Linked DNA regions of Homo sapiens: region 1 is linked to region 2. The links are contacts of gene promoters, found by promoter capture Hi-C in blood cells and fetal thymus (Javierre and others, 2016). All regions are on one chromosome and are shown on one strand. The core of a region is centred on a gene start or on the middle of the fragment in contact, and the rest is flanking DNA. Distances in the headings are between cores, read along the strand shown. Region 1 overlaps PPARGC1B (PPARG coactivator 1 beta). Region 2 holds the start of SLC26A2 (solute carrier family 26 member 2).

Region 1 (6,133 bases), core at 894-3,393, 140 kb before region 2:
CCCAGATTGTTCACCATGACTTACCTGGACAACTCTCAGAGCTGCGGGTTCCTGGCTAGTCTGGGATTCTGGGACTCTGGTTCTAAAGCTGTTTCTAAGAAGCAAGGCCTACAAAGGTGGCTGCTCTGAGTTACTGGAGAGAGGGAGATCTGGAACATAGAGCTCACCCAAGATCTTATTGCTGGGGGCTTTGCTGGCCTCGGAGGCCCCAGCTGCCTAGCAACCCGTGTCTCTGCTTTTGGCCCTCCCTTGTGTCCCACAGTCCCTAGATGGTGTCTGAGAGGTACCTCCCCAACCCACCACCTGTCCCCTCCTGGATGGCTACAACAGCTGTTAAACCATCTCCCTGCTTCTATGCTGGTCCTACCCCCATCACACTTGGGGTAAAACCCAAATCCTTTCCAATCCCTTCCTGATCCAGCCTCCACCAGCCTTTCTAGTGTCATCTTTTCCCATTTCCTCCATCCCCCACCCCTGGTCACCAAGCTGCAGCCTCACTGACCTCAACGCCTTGTGCCTTGGGCTCAGTCCCCACGGGGGTCTTTGCCTCTGACTGTCCCTCTGCCTGCAATGCTCTTCCCACCTCTTCCACTACCTGGCTTCTCCTTCAAGAAGTTTTTCCTGACATTCCATCTGATTTAGATTCTGGGCTGGGCACAGTGGCTGACACCTGTAATCCCAGCACTTTGTGGGGCTGAGGTGGGATGAGACAAGCCTGGGCAACATAGAGAGACCCCTGTCTGTACAAAAAATTAAAAAAGAAAAATTAGCCAGGTGTGGTGGTGCACACCTGTACTCTCAGCTACTTAGGAGGCTGAGGTTGAAGGATTGCTTGAACTTAAGGGGTTGAGGCTACAGTGAGTCGTGATCAAGCCATGTTGTATTCTAGCCTGGGCAACAGAGCAGGATCCTGTCTCTAAACACAAAGAGCGTGAAAAGATAGATTTTGTTTCCTGTTATCTTCCATCAGTGCACCTTGTTTGTTTCTCCTTCATAGCACTAACTCAGTCTAGAATGAAATATTTACATGTTTTCTTCCCTCACTAAGATGTCAACTCACGGAGGAAGGAGCTGAGTCTTATATAACACAGTGCCTGGCTCATAGTAGCATTGAACATGCCCACTAGAATGGCTAAAATAAAGTGACTGACAATACCAAGTGTTGGAGAGGGTGCAGAAGAATTGAACTCATACAGCTGATGGGAGTGTACAAAGTGAGTGTTCTCTCATTGTGGAAAACAGTTTTCTGTTTTATAAACTTACACACATGCTTACCATATGGCCCAACAGTTTCACTCGTAGGTATTTACCCAAGAGAAGTAAAGACATATGTCCAAACAAGACTTGTATGCAAGTATTGCAGACTTACTAGAAATGGCCCAAAACAGGAAACAAACCAATTATCCATGTAGAACAGGACCACGGCTGCATCCCCACAGTCTGCTTGGGCACGAAGGAGAAAGAAGCTCCCAAGAGGCAGCTGAGAGAATCCACCTGAGTTCCCGCAGCAGGGGCAGCCACTGAGTGCTGGTGATTTGTAGTTGGGGGGCATGACAGTTGGGCTTGTGGGGAGAGCGGTACCTGGGGGACCCAGAGATTGAGGAAGCACCTGTGTCCCTCTCATCTTCAGATTCCCAATCAGGTTCAGAAGTGTTCTGCTCTTCTCTGGAGAGTCATGATTTAGAATTACATGTTTTGTTTGTGTGATTATTTGTTTAATGTCATCCTTCCCCACCCACCATCACAGTGCCTGGCTCAGAGTGAGTGGGCTCTCAATAATGAGGATTGTGGAATACATGTGGATTGGAGAAAGAATGGGCAGGTGGTGGGCAGGGTGGTGGGGCCATGCTCCCAGAGACAGACTTGCTGGGCACCTTGCTGCCTGCTTGAGGACAGGGGACCGGCCGCTTGAGAGGACCTGGGCCTGTTGCCGCCTGTGTAGGCAGGATTCTTGCAAAATGCCAATTAAGACATTTGACCCAAATTTGGATAAAAGCCTTTTTCCTGTGTCAAGTTGAGCTAATAATATACATTTATTCATAATTTATGAGGCCTAGTAAGTGGGAACAATTAAGGGAAAGGTCTGGGGAAAACCTGTTTCTCTTAAGTGTCACATATGCCTCTTTTTGTTCTCTGAGAAGTTCCCGCTCCTCTCTGCCTACCATGAAATACCATTGTTTTATCATTATTATTATCATTATTTGTTATATTACTCTTAGCTGACATTTATTGAGCAGTTACTAGGCCGGGCTATAATGACATTGCCTCTTTTAATCTTAACATATAAGGCAGATATTGTTGTTGTCCACGTTTTACAGATGAAGGGACTTGCCCAAAGTCCACAACTGGTGAATGGGGATCTCAACTCACTTCTGCCAGGCCCCAGGGCCAACAGAACATCACCAAGCCATTCTGTTTCTGTGTCAGCCCCCCAACTCAGGCTATTTCTGAATCTGTAGGGCAGTTCTTCTATTGGTAACCATTAAACTGGGGAGACCAGGGTGAGAAATTGATTGGCTTCTGATTCAGTAGCTCTGGGTTTAGGCCTGAGAATTTATATTATTTCCAACATACCAGGTTTCCAGGTGATTCTGGTGCTGCCCGTCTGGGACTACACTTTGAGAACCACTGATTCAGGCAATGCTGTTATCAGAGTCACCTGTGGCTCCCTTCTCCCCTACTCACTGCTGTTAGGTGGGTTTATGACCGTCTAGATCTTTTCCTGTGTGTTTGCATACATGCTATCCTACATAGAGAAATATATGGCTTGATTTTTACTTTCTTTACACATGTGGGGTTATATTTTACATGCTGGTATTCTACAACTTTTTTATTTAATGTGTCTTGGAGAACACACAGATCTTCCTCATTCTTTTCAACAGCACTGTAGTATTTCATGATATGGGTGTTTGTTTGTTTGTTTGTTTTTGTTTTTTTTTGTTTGTTTTTCGTTTTTTTGAGACAGTTTCCATCTGTCACCCAGGCTGGAGTGCAGTGGCTCGATCTCAGCTCACTGCAACGTCCGCCTCCCGGGCTCAAGTGATTCTCATGCCTCAGTCTCCCAAGTTACTGAGATTACAGGCATGCGCCACCACCCCTGGCTAATTTGTGTATTTTTAGTAAAGACGGGCTTTCGCCATGTTGGCCAGGCTGGTCTTGAACCCCTGACCTCGAATGATCCGCCCACCTTGGCCTCTCAAATTGTTGGGATTACAGGCATGAGCCACCATGCCCGGCCCGTGATACGGGTGTTTTATGGCTTTATTTACATATTGTCTATTGATTGGTGTTCCATCATATATCATATATGTAATTTTATGTTCATCATATATGTTCCATCGTATATTACATCATATATGTAATTTTAGACATTACATATATTCCTATAAAATTCCTGGGAACATGAATGGGTGTTTCTCCAGAACCTAGCAGTCACACAATACTGTCAGTCATTATTATTGCTGTTTTTTGTTTCATTATTAATATAGAGGCATTGTTAGCTTTAAGAAGTCCACTTATAAGTGGGGACATATGTGTAAAGGATTAGCTCCTCTATTTACAGTCTTTAATAAAGTTTTCAACAAAACAGTTCTGGTAACAGGAGGACAGAGATGTATGTGGGCAGGGCCTTGAGGGATATGTAGGAGTGCAGAGGGGAGAGCAGCAGGGGGTTTTGTACTGCTGGGGCCTAGCTTAGCTACCAGAAGATTCAACCAAGGGGTGAAGCTGATCTTTCCATTTCTTGGTCATTTGGCAAAATCGGGCCTTGGCCACGGGTCCAGATTAGCTGCATCATTATTGAGAGGGCCCCTGCTTGGGTCTAGCCAGCCTCAGCTCTGATCCACCTCTTTCCTTCCTGTCTCCTCAGGGTGGAGGGTCCGGGGAGGAGCAACTCTATGCTGACTTTCCAGAACTTGACCTCTCCCAGCTGGATGCCAGCGACTTTGACTCGGCCACCTGCTTTGGGGAGCTGCAGTGGTGCCCAGAGAACTCAGAGACTGAACCCAACCAGTACAGCCCCGATGACTCCGAGCTCTTCCAGGTATGCCCTTTCCAGTCTCCCCTCCTCCCACCCTGCCAGGCCTCTCTCTCCTCAAAATCCCGGCTCTGCCCTGCTCTGCCTTCTCCTGCACTTGCTCATGCAGAGAAATCCCCTCACCCACCAAAGCTGTTGGGCCCCGGTTTCTCGTGCTGGATGGGCCCCTGATCTGGCGCAGCGCACATGCCTCACCTGGCCCTTGCTGTGTCACCTCCAGAAAGTAAGGGTGAGATGAACTGCTCTCTAGGCCTCCCGAGCAGAACCAAGCCCCTTCGTGTGCCACAGAGGTCCAAGTCCTCTGTTCCCTACATTATCTCATCCAGTCTTCGTCCCCACCCTGCAAGACAGGGTCCAGTATTTTCCCATTTTACAGATAAGGAAAATGAGGCTTGGAAAAGTTAAGTCATGTGCCTAGGGCAATTAACCTAGTCAGAAGTTGAACTGGATTCAAACCCAGTCTTCTTGCCTCCAGAGCCGGGACTTTACGACCATGATGATACCATAATGAGATGACTGGCATTTATTGAGCAGCTGTTCTGTGGGAGAGCTGTCCCTGTTTGTGTATATTAATTCATTTAAATTTCTTAACAACTCTCAGTTGTAAATACAATTATCTCCCTTTTTCAGCTGGAGCCTAGAGGTTCTTTAATAAGAGGGAGTGCCAAGAACCACTATTATGCATGTGCCTCTCCCAGCCCTGTGTGCTCCAGCGCCCAGCCTCAGGGGCATGTAATGGCTAGCATTTCCTGTAAGAAGGCCTCTTACGGAATAATATGATGTCTGGGGTTTGCTTCAGAAGAAAGCAAGCTCTGCATGGATTTGCATGTGTGGGTGGGAGTGTGCGGCCTAGAGGGTAATCGATGAAATTGGATTGGCCGTATTTAGCTGGGTGATGGACACATTCAGATTCATGATTCTTTTCTTGGAATTTTCTCCCTCATAAAGATTGGGGGCAGAAGCCATAGCTCCCTGTGCCTGTCTGGCAGTATAATAATAATAACAACCACAATAACATCGCGTGTGCTGAACACCAAGGTGGTGTGCCGCAAGCGTCCTCTCCAAGCGTCCTCCTCATGGATTTTATCATCCTTTTAGAAACGTTTACCAAGCCCCCTATGTGTCAGGCACTGTGTTCATCCGAGGACTTTACCGTCTGTAAACATGTGAACAAACAGCAGTCACTTGTGATAAGGGCAGAAAGGAAATAGAGAAGGGACTGTGGACTGAGTGGTCGGGAAAGGCCTCTCTGAGGAAGAGAAGCTATCAGTTGTGTACTCCTAATAATCGATTTTACAGACAAGGAAAGGGAAGCTCAGAAAGGCTGAGTAACTCGCCCAAGGTCAAACAGCTAGTAAGGATCCAGGCAAAGACTGTAATCTAGGAACCCACACCCCTCACCGCTACACTGAACCCCTTTGCCAACCCTGTGAGGAATTACCAGAACCAAACTGTAGTTCTGGCTCCAACCGGAGACCTCCATTTTCTTGCTTGAACAATGGGGACAATTCCTTTGCTATATTGTTCCTTTCCTCTTAGGGGGCCAACTCCAGAAAATGCTTTTAGGTTGCAGAGAACTCATGAGTGAAAAGGGGTTTGGATGCTCCCTGAAAACCATCCCCACTGAGACTGTATAGGCCCCCCACCTACTCAGAAAATGGCCAGACCCACCAGTAAGCTTCTGATGAGGTCCTACTAATGCTTTCAGGCACAAGTAAGCTTGGTGCGGCCCCAGTCCTGCAAGGAAGACAGTCCTCACAGCTGGCTGAGCTCTGCCCTCCCAGCCCCTCTCCCTTTCATGGGCTGCACACTCCACCAGCTCTCCTGAGACTAGACTAGCTCTATCCATTGCTCACCGATGCACCCTCTGTGCATGTGACTGGGGCCTGTCCCCAGCCCCTGCTCCCTGCCCATCGGAAACTCTGAGTGTGGGCTGTGTCTGCATTGTGCATGGTTGTATTCCCAGGGCTGTGCACAGTGCCTGGCACTTTGTCAGGGCTTAACAGTCATCCACTGAATGAATCCTTCGACACGCAGCTCTCCTGATGCCTCCTCCTAAGGCAGTTGGTCACTTAGTCCCTCTCATGGGCTCCCATC
Region 2 (6,277 bases), core at 2,742-5,241:
CCCATTGTTTAGTTCCCACTTATAAGTGAGAACATGTGTCTTTGGTTTTCTGTTTCTGAGTTGTTTTTCTTAGGATAATGGCCTTCGGCTCCACCCATATTGCTGCAAAGGACGTGATTTTGTTCTTTTTTATGGCTGCATGGCAGGCTTTTAAAAACTATCAATGTCTGAGTCAATACCAATAAAAGTATATCTGGTAGTAGGACCTAAACATTACCATTTTTTTAAAAGTTCCCCAAGAGACTCTTTTTTTTTTTTTGAGATGGAGTTTTGCTCTTGTTGCCCAGGCTGAAGTGCAATGTTGCAGTCTCGGCTCACTGCAACCTCCACCTCCTGGGTTCAAGTGATTCTCTTGCCTCAGCTTCCTGAGTAGCTGAGATTACAGGCACCCACTGCCACACCCGGCTAATTTTTTGTATTTTTAGTAAAGACAGCGTTTCACCATGTTGGCCAGGCTGGTCACGAACTCCTGACCTTGTGCAGAACTGAGAACTGCTGGTATAGAATAAACCTGGAAAGCAACACAGGAAAATGGGTGCTGTGTTTGCCTCTAGAAAGGTACACCAGGGTAAGAATAGGCTATGAGGAAGATTTACTTTTTACTGTAAACCCTTGACCTTTTTAATTTGTTTACTTTGTGTTACCTATTTCCAAGAACAATCAAGCTAACATTTTACAAAATGTTTTGCAAAAAAGTAAAATGGCCCAGGCATGGTGTCTCATGCCTGTAATCCCAATACTTTGGGAGGCCAAGGTAGGAGGATCACTTCAGGCCAGGAGTTTGAGGCCAGGAGTTTGAGATCAGGCTGGGCAACATAGGGAGACCCCCATTTCTACAAAAAAATAAAAAATTAGCTGGGTGTGGTGGCGTTCGGCTGTGGTTCTAGACACTCAGGAGGCTAAGGTGGGAGGATCACTTGAGTCCAGCAGTTCGAGGTTAGAGGGATCTATAATTGCGCCACTGCACTCCAGCCTGGGTGACAGAGCAAGACCCTGTCTCTTAAAAAAAAAAAAAAAAAAAAAAAAAAAGACACTTATAGCAGTGAAAATGAAGCCTGAATAGCACACTAGGAATAGTTCATTCAATAGTGGGAATCCAGTGGGAGTTCAAGGTCCAGTGGGGCCTCAGAGGAAGTGACTAGTCCCACCTGGGAAGAATGGGTGGTCAGGAATGCTGAGGAGGTAAATCCTGAAGTGGCCCCAACCTGAAAGGACTTATTTGCTGGCCCACCATGCCTCCAGTGCATACATCATTAGTTACGCTTTGGAAAAGCTGTTTGGGAAGAGTAATGGCTATAAAATGTGGCCCTCCGGCTGCCAGTCACCTCTGTGAACCCTGAGACCAACAGGAGGGAAAAAATGCCCAGGCTAGGAGGCGTAAAGAGATCCAAGTGCTGCTGATGTGATGTCATCGAGGAAAAGCTAATTATTGGCCAGCTTTCCAGTAGCAGGGATTTAGTTATTCACCCCCACCCCCCACCCCACCCCTCCACCCGCTGCCTTTGATTCCTGTTGTGGAGCACTGGAACATCGGTGAAGGGAAAGTAGCATGGCAGACCAAAGTCTGGCTCCATGGAGCTCCTTGGGATGTGTGTGTGGAGATCAGCGAGGGACCACAACAGTAAACAGCAGCCAGGGATGCTGAACTAGGAGGCAGAGAGGCACCAATGGCCAACCTAAAGCTTCTTTACTAGCACCTTCTCCTGGCCCCGGGCCATAGCTTGCATGTTCTTGGGTGCTGGCATGTCACAGCTCCCAGGTCAAAATCCACCTCCATCCCATCTCAAAATCTACTGCTTGTTAGCTGAATAAACTTGGTAAGTAATACTATTCTGAGCCCCAATTTCTTCGTCTGTGATGCAGATGAATATGTATGAAATAAAATCAAAGAATGATAGGCAGTATTAAATTTGACTGGTCTGGTTTTTTATTTTTGCTTTTGTTTTTATTTTTGAGATGGGGTCTCACTCTGTCACCCAGGCCGGAGTGCAGTGGCACGATCTCGGCTCACTGCAACCTCTGTCTACTGGGCTCAAGCTGTCCTCCCACCCCAGCCTCCTGAGTAGCTGGGACTACAGGCACATGCTACCATGCCTGGCTACTTTTTTCTATTTTTGGTAGAGTTGGAGTTTCACCATGTTGTCCAGGCTGGTCTCTAACTCCTGAGCTCAAGTGGCTTATAGGCATGAACCACCATGCCCGGCCAAATTTGGCCAATCTTTATTGGTGCCTGTTATATGCAAGGTCCTGGCTTCCCCACACAGACAAGAAAACAAACAAATAAATGAATAAATGTCAGCTGCAAGGATTGGAGTGGATTCTTGCATTTGCATAGCACAGTGAGTGTAGTGGTTAAGAGTGGGCTTTGCAGTCAGACGTGACTGTGTTAAAATCATGCTACTGTCACTTATTAACTGTGGGACGTTGGGCAGATCACCTAACATCTCTGAGCCTCATTTCCTCACCAAAAAAAAGAAGAATCATAATATGGCACCTCCTCTAAAGCTGTTGTGAGGATTAACTCATGTAATGAATGTGAAGAGTTCTGCGCAGGCACGTGATAAACATCCAGAAACTGTTTATTCTGCTTGTTGTGCAGTCTTTAGGGCTTAAACAAAGTACTTTACACTGATTGCCTTACCTGACCCTCTCCAGGACTCTGGGTGCTAGGGCATTAACTACCCTTTGAAAGGTGAAAACATTGATGCCCATTGAGGTGAAATGATTTGTCTTCAGCCACAAGGGGCAGCATCAGGAGTAGAACCCAAGTGTTTGTGTTCTGATTCCCAAGACAGCTTATGACGTTTTGGAAACTCTGAATCTGATGGGTGACAGAAACTTGGGGATCATCTCTAGATAAGAAAGGGAGTTCCTTGAATGACTGTGAAGACGTTCACCGGAAAGGGAAGGAAAGGAAGTTAATCATGCTTCCTTCACAGGCCCTCCTTCACCCCCATCTAGTGGGCACATGCAAGCTACAAACAAGGTGAGGAATGAACAAATTAATACATACTCAATAGTGGCCAGTTCGAGGCAGATAATTAAATCAAGATGACCTGAAAGGATGTGACTGGCTGTGGCTAGTTTACACAGGGTGGTCAGGGACGGCCTCGCCATGGAGAGGGCTGGTGTTTTGGCTGAGACCTGAGAGACCAGAAGAAATCTGATGGCCAGAACCAATGTTTAGGTCCCTAAAGAGAACAAGCGTGGCGAGCAAAGGGGGCCAGTATGGGTGGAGATCAGCGAGGGAGGGGGGCAGAGATGAGTGCCCGAAGCACACAGTACCTTGGCATAGGGAGGGTTTGATTTTACCTACAAATGCCATTAAACCCACTAAGGATTTTAACAAAAACTACAATTACATTTTAATTTACATTTTATGTTTTATAGAGACAAGGTTCGGCTATACTGCCCAGGTTGATCTCGAACCCCTGGGTTCAAGCGATCCTCCCTACTCGGTCCCCCAAAGTGCTGGGATTACAAGCGTGAGCCGCTGCGCCCGGCCTTTTAATTTACATTTTAGCCTTCCGGTTACTGGAATCTTTGATGGGGAATGAGTTATAGTGAGGCAAGAGCCTCTAACATTCTAGGAGCTCTTTTCCCGTTCGGGGCCTCAATTTCCCGTTCTACAAAGGCGGGTGGGAGGGAACGGGGTCCCAAGTAGTACTGGATAAAGAGGTGGCCGATCGCAAACGCTGAGCACTTCAAAACTCTGGGCAGAGCGCTTCCGCGCCTCTCCTGCTATTTCACCCTGGCCACAGGCTAGCCGCCGAGGCCGGTCATCCGCTCTCTCCGCGGAGGAGTCAACGCCACGGAAGCAGCGGCGGAACCTCTCTAAGAATCCTTCCAGCTTGTGCTCTTCTGTCCAGGGCAGCCAATCGCGAGGAGGAGAGTAGTCAGAGGGCGGCACCCTCCCCGGTCTGGGCCGAGTTATTGGCTGGTGGTAGCGTCGCTCGCCCGGCAGTACCACGTGACGGCCTCGGCCGCGGGCGTTTACACTGGCTCTGCCTCCGGCATCTCTTCGCCGGTGCGTCCTCGCCGCGCCCGTAGGTCCCGGCAGCCGGGCCCCGCCTCCTTCGGAGTCCGAGCGATGGGCGGGGAAAGGGACAGGCAGGTATAGCTCTGTCGGCGCCGCGGTGTCCACCTCAGTCAGGCCACGGTGGAAGACGCGTGCCGCGGCGCCTGGTTGCCTGCAGCGGCCCGGACCCGAGAGGTGAGAAGAGGGAAGCGGACCAGGGAAGAGGGAGGGAGCGGTGCTGGCCGCCAAGCGGTCAGCGGGCCCCTCCCAGAGTCATTCTGCCTGGGTCCCCGCGCGGTAGAATCCCAGATCAGGGGTCGCCGCCGTGGAGCGGGGCGTGCGTCAGGTTATTTCCCGGGTGGTCCGGGGCCGGGCGAGTGGCACTGCACCCTGGTGATCCGGGCCTGCCCGTCTGGCTGGCGGCTGCCCACCCGCCCTCCATCCCGCGTATCTCGCCGTATCTCGCCGGGTGCCACGCACTCCGCTGCTTTTCCAGTCCTCGTTGATCCGTCTCGAACCTAGATATCTGGAATAGGGATCGAGGAGATAGGAGCCACCACCACCTCGGACAGATGGGGAAACTGAGGCCGGCACAGGCGAGACGGCTTGGTTATCTTGGTTATTAAAAATCACACACCCGATTAAGTACAAAATCAGGACCTGTTCTTTCGGACTCACACACTAAGTTGGTATTATTTCACTGGATGGATGGAAACACTGAGAAGACAGAGAGGGCCCAGAGCCTTGCCTAAAAATACACAGCAAGTCTTTTGCAGAGCTAGGACTTGTACCCAGCTCTCCAAACTCATAGACTATCAGCCTGGGCTCCTTCCTTGCACAGATTGGGGATCACAGTGAGTTAGAAACATTCAGAACTTAAATTGCCTTCCGGCGCCCATTCTAGTTAACCTGTCTTTTCTCCTTGTCCCCAACAGTTCTTTATGTGAAATCTACAACTAATGTGATATGCAATACTAGATTAAGCAGAACTTTTTGTTTTTGAAAATTGAATCAATAAGAAATGGAGGGCCAAAGCTGTGGGAAAGGAATGGACCCTTTAAAATCAGGAATCTCAAGGCAGGATATAGCAAGGGACAGAGACTAATAGCTGTCGTTTATTGAGTAAATGCTATGTGCCAGGCACTGTGGTAGGTAGTTGTGTTAGCCTTACAAACCAGCAAGTTAGGTAATGTTACCCCATTTTACAGGTCAGAAATTGATGCTGAGTACAGTGAAGTTTTACAAAACCATTGCCATATGACTGCTGAGCAGTATAGCTGGGATCTGAACAGAGATCTGTTTGACTTCCAGAACACATCCAGTGATTCTCCAAGTGTGGTCCTAAGCTCACTCGTTCAGCATCATCTAGCGTGTGGAGTCCTGGATCTCATCCTTGGATTTGCAGGGATGGTCCTAAGAAGCTAACGGCTCTCTGTATTTGACAATTATTGTACTGTAATGTGCTGCCTCCTAGGGGAAGATCTAGAGGTGAACATACTCTGGGCTAGGGGTAATTTTTGAGGGAAAAAAATCACTTTTTTTTAATTTCTGATTTGACTTTTTTTTTTTTTGAGACCAGGTCTTACTCTGTCATCCGGGCTAGGAGTGCAGGGGCGCGATCTAGGCTCACTGCAGCATTGACCTCGTGGGTTCAAGCAAACCTTCCACCTCAGCTTCCTGAGTAGCTGGAACCACAGGTGCACGCTGCCATACCTGGCTAGTTTTTGTAGTTTTTGTAGAGATGGTGTTTCACCATGTTGCCCAGTCAGGTTTCAAACTCCTGAGCTCAAGCAATCCTCCTGCCTTGGCCTTCCAAAGTGCTGGGATTACAGGCATGAGCCACTGTGCCCTGCCCACACTTTTATTTTTTATTTTCCCCCATGATTGACAGAAGGATAATCACGCTTTTAGTGAATGTAAACCCCCAGGCAGATGCTTGCCAAGCTTAATTTCTTGACATAAGCTTGGTTTTGGCATGTGGGGGCGGAAGAGTGGGGTTGGAGAGTTAAGTGAGAATGGGGAAAGTAACTCCTTTTTCCTTATCATATAGCTGTTAAATTCTAATTCACTCAACAGATACTTGCTAAGCATTTATTAGGTGCAAGACATGTTCAAGACACTGAGAATACAGCTTTGAACAAAACAGAGCAAGTCAGTGCCCTCATGTGAAAGACAATTAACAATGTGTGGTATGGAATGGTGAGAAGAGCTATGGAGAAAAATAAAGGGCATAGGAGTGCAAGGCAGGGCTGGGCCCAG

What was found. The method cuts DNA at HindIII sites, captures the fragments that hold promoters and counts their contacts. A CHiCAGO score of 5 or more calls a contact.
Region 1: a contact is called between a fragment that was not itself captured here and the fragment with the promoter of SLC26A2 in region 2, in 1 of 17 cell types (erythroblasts). The highest score is 5.5, in erythroblasts.

What each region holds. Positions count from the first base shown.
Region 1 is chr5:149,816,565-149,822,697 of GRCh38, forward strand. PPARGC1B (PPARG coactivator 1 beta) reads left to right here. Exons shown (of 12, transcript NM_133263.4): 2 at 3,869-4,042. Among named protein-coding and RNA genes, the nearest start is that of MIR378A, 87 kb to the left of the region's middle. RefSeq lists an enhancer at 2,611-3,127. The HindIII fragment of the contact is 7,137 bases long and covers 1-5,712 here.
Region 2 is chr5:149,956,767-149,963,043 of GRCh38, forward strand. SLC26A2 (solute carrier family 26 member 2) reads left to right here and starts at 3,992. Exons shown (of 3, transcript NM_000112.4): 1 at 3,992-4,213. RefSeq lists enhancers at 2,408-3,011, 2,808-2,887 and a silencer at 3,928-4,047. The HindIII fragment of the contact is 4,280 bases long and covers 1,681-5,960 here.